Regions from separate parts of the Homo sapiens genome. Here region 2 is linked to region 1. Evidence: promoter capture Hi-C in 16 types of primary human blood cells and fetal thymus (Javierre and others, 2016). All regions are on one chromosome and are shown on one strand. The core of a region is centred on a gene start or on the middle of the fragment in contact, and the rest is flanking DNA. Distances in the headings are between cores, read along the strand shown.

What was found. The method cuts DNA at HindIII sites, captures the fragments that hold promoters and counts their contacts. A CHiCAGO score of 5 or more calls a contact.
Region 2: a fragment that was not itself captured here is called in contact with the fragment with the promoter of FAM81A in region 1 in 1 of 17 cell types (total B cells); the score reaches 5.7 in total B cells.

What each region holds. Positions count from the first base shown.
Region 1 is chr15:59,436,817-59,439,653 of GRCh38, reverse strand. FAM81A (family with sequence similarity 81 member A) reads right to left here and starts at 1,468. Exons shown (of 9, transcript NM_152450.3): 1 at 1,372-1,468. RefSeq lists a silencer at 1,241-1,770. The HindIII fragment of the contact is 11,804 bases long and covers 869-2,837 here.
Region 2 is chr15:59,003,544-59,006,434 of GRCh38, reverse strand. The region is part of intron 1 of RNF111 (ring finger protein 111); the gene reads right to left. Among named protein-coding and RNA genes, the nearest start is that of RNF111, 17 kb to the right of the region's middle. The HindIII fragment of the contact is 1,528 bases long and covers 698-2,225 here.

The sequences.
Region 1 (2,837 bases), core at 219-2,718:
GAAACTGTGTCTTCCCAACCCACGTTCTTATACAGATGAAATCAGATTCGAATGAAAATCAAGGGTAGCTTTAAGTAGAAAGTCAGAAGGGGCAACCAGGGGTACCTGTGAGAGGGTACGTCCTCCATTCCCCTCCGTGGAAGAGGGAAGTTTATAGACAGTGGATATGGAAGGGGGCCTAAGTGTCCTTTTTAGTACCAGTCAACGCTAAAAATATTATAAGTGCCAAGGAACCCGCCCCCCCCAACACACACACACACACATACACACACGCGCATTCAGTGACAGGGCCCAGAAGGCAGATACAATGTGCAAATCTGGGGATGGTTCTCAATAAAGAATATATTTACTCTACAAACCTCTTATTTTAAAAGCAAGTTGCAAATGTTTGCCCTTGCTTCTGAGAGAGCTGCACTTTTGTGGATTCGAATCATTCTAGCATTATTTCTGGTTACTCCTATGAAATAATTTCCAACACTGCCGTACGCAGACTTTGAGCTGAGGACGAGAGCGCACGCGCACACACGCACACACACACACGCGCGCACACACACACATAAACCTCGTGCACATTGAAGAAATGACTCACTTAATTTGCTGCTGCCTGCCACGATTGGGTTTTGATTTTACCTGTTCAAATACAAAGTTTCCTATTAGATTAACTACAGGAAAGAAGAACTTAGGAGCATTAATCCTGATTTTGTTCATGTCTTTAGGGCACCAAAGAGGTTTTAACCTGTGCATCTTAAGAAGCCATTCTCCGGACCACCGACTGCTTGCTCCATAATCTTCCAGACAACGATAACATTTCTTACCACTTTAGGAGCCAATTAATGGAAACCCCTCCTAGAATAAACATGGTTAAGCTTTGCATCTCCGGTACCTGCAGAACCGTACTTTAGGGCTCTTTCTCAGCTCGCAGTAGGATGGCACAACAGCATTCTGGAACTGCAAAGACCCCCTAGCCTCTCGTTTGAAAGATGAGAAAAAGCGAAGGGGCGGAAGAGCAGATGGTTAACCTACCCAAGGTCACTCACTCTGAGTAGTGGGTCGGCTGACTCGCCTTTACCCCTGGCAATCCGTGCACCACCCCAGCTCCCCCAAACAGTCCCTCCGGGCGTCGGTTGGTTCGCTAGCATGCAGCCCCCGCGAAAATGCAACGCCAGTTGCGCTCTGTGCCCAACTTCAGCCCTTCGCGTCACATGCAGTTAACCCTCTCGCCCGCGGCATGTCACATGGGCCACGCGCAGCTCTCTCTACCCCACGCCTATCTCCTGAGAGGCTGCCCCAAGGTCACCGGCCGTCCCAGAGAGCTCCCGCCGCCCAGCCCCAGAGGCCGCCCGGCCGGGGTTCCCAGAGCGCGGCACTCACCGGCGCGGGGGGTGGGCGCGCCGCGGCTGCCCATGTCCTCGCCGGCGCGGCTGGGTGCGGCGGCCGCTGGCGCTGGCTGAGCAGGGCGCCCGGCTGCGGGCCCGCGCCGCGGGGAGCGCCGTCCAATCAGCGCGCGCCTGCCGCCTGGCCCGGCGCGCGGCCCGGCCGGGTTCGCGGCTCCCGGGGGGCGCGAGCCGCCGCGCGCCGCCGGAGCCGCTTCCGGGCGCGTTGCCTGGACGCGGTTGCCGTGGCAGCCCGAGCTGGAGGCTTTCCCCGCGCACCCGCGCCCAGCCTGGCGGCGCCGCCCCTCCTCCCTCCTCGTTCCCACACCCAAAATAGCCTCTGCTCGTCGCTGCTGTTTCCCACAGAGCTCGCATCCAAGCGCCTTGGAGTTGGCGGGCGGGGATTTCGCTCATTGGAAAATAAATCCTGTTGTAGGGATGGTTGATTTGGAGAGGTGTTGAAATGGTGCCTGACGGAGATCATAGCCATGGTGGTGGCACTGCAATTCTCTCTAGAGCCCCAATATACCTTATTTACTAAACCGCTTTCCCACAAAAATAGTTCTCTCCCCCGCCCCACCTCAAATTGGGGAGAAGTTATTTGATTAGGCCACGGTGACGCCCCACCTGTGCAGGTGAACGAACCCTCCGGGGCTGCCATGTGTCATTTACTGAATCGCCTTGACACCTGCAGTTGGGACCCAGGATCGTGTCTCATCGCAGCAGACACGACGAGAAGAAGAACCCCGAACACCCCTCCTCTTCCCAGCCCTTTCTTCTCCCGTCAGCTTCATCCCCTCCCAGCGCGTCCTGGCTCTTTCCACCTTCCTCTCGATTTTGGATTCTCATCAGGACGCACAAGCCCATTCACTCATAATTGTGCTTCCTCTCGGTGGGCAGGATTTCAGCGGAGTTGCGGGGGACACGACCTTTGCCTCATCTGGTTCGTGCCTCCTTCGCAGATACTGGTACTTACCCAGCACAGGGGCTCCTGTCTGTCTCCCCCACCCCGCCCCAGCCTGAGCCCTTCCAACCCAGGGGAAGGAGCCCGACATGGTAGAAGAGCCCGAACTGTGGATTCGGCTGAGCGGTTTTGGAATTCTCTCTCCGGCAGCATTATTATTTAGGGGCTATTAGTATTAAGGACTGTTATTTGTGTGTGATCTTTGAAATATTTGTGGGTATTCTGCGACTGTTTCCTCACCAGTAAAACGGGCTAATAACTTCCACAAAGCGCTAACGCATCTGTAACATTCATTCAGCCAACAGTATCTATTGGATGGCTGCCAAGTGCTAGAAACTATGCTTAGCCCTGAGACACAATGGTGAAGATGAAAAAGAGACACATCACTTTCTGATCCCACAGAGCTTAGAGCCTGACGAGCATTCATCAAATAATCACAGACACATGTTAACACTGCCGTTGTGACCAGGAGAGTAATGGCCTTGAGTCTTGTGATGTGT
Region 2 (2,891 bases), core at 212-2,711, 430 kb after region 1:
TCTAAAACAAAGAAAACTCATCTATGATGTCAAAAATCAGATGAGTAGTTGCCTGAGGCAGGAGATGTGGGTGGCTGATGGCAAAAGAGCACAAAGGAACTTTCTAGAGTGATGGAATGTTTTATGTCCTGATTGGGGTGCTAACTGCATGGACAGACACATTTGCCAAAATTCATCCAACTATACATAAAACGTGTGCCTCATATTGTATATAAATTATACATCAAACATCAACTTGGTTGGTTTTTAAAATAAGTTCACTATATAAAATCTGGAATACACAGAAAAAGCAAAGAGAAATTAAGTCCCAATCCCATCACCCTAATAAAATCACCAACCTTTCCTTCTCTTGACAATGACCACGCCTACTGGAGATAAAAATATACTTTAGATGGTTTTCCTTAGAAGGAAATACAGAAATAGTGACTTCCTAAATTTTGGAATTCTTTGCTCAGGCAACTCAAAATGCATTGATTTAAATCTCCACATCCCCATCACTGCTGTGACTCATTAGCAAATTATTAATCATTCTGTGCCTGAATTTCCTCATCTGAAAAATGAAAATATTTACCACAAAGGGTTGTTGTAAATATTAAACAAAGTAACATATGCATATGATAGCTTTTATTGTTGTTGTTTTAAAGATGACGAGTCAGCTAGTTTTTAGAAATCGTCCAGGCAAAGACGTCCACAAGCTTCTTCCCTCTGAATTCTTCCCCCTACCCACGATCACCACATATACATATACATACATTTTTTTTTTGGTACGACTTCAATCCTCTAGCTACACCCACCTCAAACTAGTCTAACTTATTCAAGTGAACCTCAAATTCCTCTTGAAGATTAGACCAAAACACTGAGTTGTTAAAGGCCAAAGCAAAGGTTGGAGTAACAAAATAAATAAAAATAAAATCAGAAAACTAAATTAAAAAGATGACAGCTGTCCTGAGAATGCGGGATCTAATGTTGGGAGCAAAACTGCCCAAGGAAACAATTTCTCTTTGAATGAAGTCCAATAAGTTTATTTAGATAAAATTTGTTTTTACTCTACATATATGATTTAGGTCAGTCAAAATATGTAATCTGGAGAATAGTAATGAAAGCCTATGTTCTAGAGGCTGGGTGCAGTGGCTCGTGCCTGTAATCCCAGCACTTCATGCAGGGAGGACTGCTTGTGCCCAGGAGTTTGAGATCAGCCTAGGCAACATAGGTGAGACTGTCTCGACAAATAAACAAACAGTATGTACTAAAGAAAGAGAACTTGAGTTGTAAGAGGAAAACCAGGAAGACTTACTGACACTTTAATGGCTGACAGTATAGGCATACTGAAAGTTGGAATTTGGGAGAACACCTCTAGATAGACATCAAGCCCATAAAGTGAACTTGACAAGAAAAAAATAATTTAAACCATGTAGGAGATTATGCTTGCCCTTCTGCTCACTGATTATATGCCTAGAATCAACACAAAATAGGAGATTAAATTTTGCTGCTCTCCACTGGGTCTCACTTCCCAAGTGTCTCTCAGAATGTGAGCATCTTACTATGCTGTCAGATTCTAATATTTAGAGCCATTTATTTTTCCCATATTATAGGCCATATACACAAACCTACTCTTTCTCTGATATTTAACAATGAAAACATGATTTATTCCAATAGTGGAGGGAAAACGGGAAGTGCTAGACTTCCAGAGACTGCATATTTATAATGTATATTTGGGCAACTTTAGGGATTTCCAAGGTTATCTTTGACTAAATGCCATTTTTGCTTTCCTTGGATCAGTATATTCAGACAGTGAAGTGAAAATTCTTGTTACAAGAAACAAAAAACACCAAGATATTAAACAACTCTAGAATACTGGTTTGGGGAAACCAAGAATTCATTATCCTGCATACTGATGTCAGCTACTTTATTTAACAAACCTTTTATGGTTTGAATTTTTACTGTACGTCACTGATCAAGGTGATAAAAAGATAGTAAGGTGCTACCCTTTCCTAACAAATTTCATATTCTAGATAAAAATAGTAACCTTAATCCTAATGTGAATTCTTGTACACGTTAAGTCTCATCTACACACATTTACCTATATACTTTTTTGCAATCTTCAGAATTTTAGTTTCAGTAAACCTAAACAGCAAGTTCCTTCTGTTGGAGATAATAAAAAGAGACAACTAAGGATCAGTAAAGATAATTGGGAGAGAAAAGAAGGAGTATTTTAAATTGAAGCTTGTTAAAGGAAGATAACTAAAAACAAAGTTGAGACCTTAAAACTGCTAATCCAGAACTGCCATCTATGAGGGAAAAAACATGCATTCACACTGGAATAAAATAAATAAATCCAAGAGTCTGGGAAGAGGGTTTCAAAAAGATCAACTCAGCTACGGCAAGGAGGATAAACACAGGATAGGTCACTCAAACTTCTTCCATCCCAAGCATCTGGAATGAGAACAAAACCAAGAAAAGTCAATCAGGAAAGAGAAATTAATTTTACAGTAGCTTATTAATATTTTAGAAGATACAGTATCACTGACAATACATTAGCTATCACTTATTCATTTATGGTTCTCATTCAATAAATATTTATTGAAAGCCTATAATGAGCTAGGCACTTGTTTTAGGCACTGGCATCAGCCACGAACAGGACATAGAAAGTCTTTGCTCTCATGGAAATTACATGCAAATGAGACCAAAAAACCAAGATAATTTTAGAGCGAAACACGTGCTATTAAGAAAATACGCCACGTGCAGTGGCTCACACCTGTAATTCCAGCAGTTTGGGAGGCTGAGGCAGGCAGATCGCTTGAGCTCAGGAGTTCAAGACCAGCCTGGGCAACACGGCAAAACCCTGTCTCTACAAAAAATTTTAAAAAAATTAGCTGGGTGTGGTAGCACGC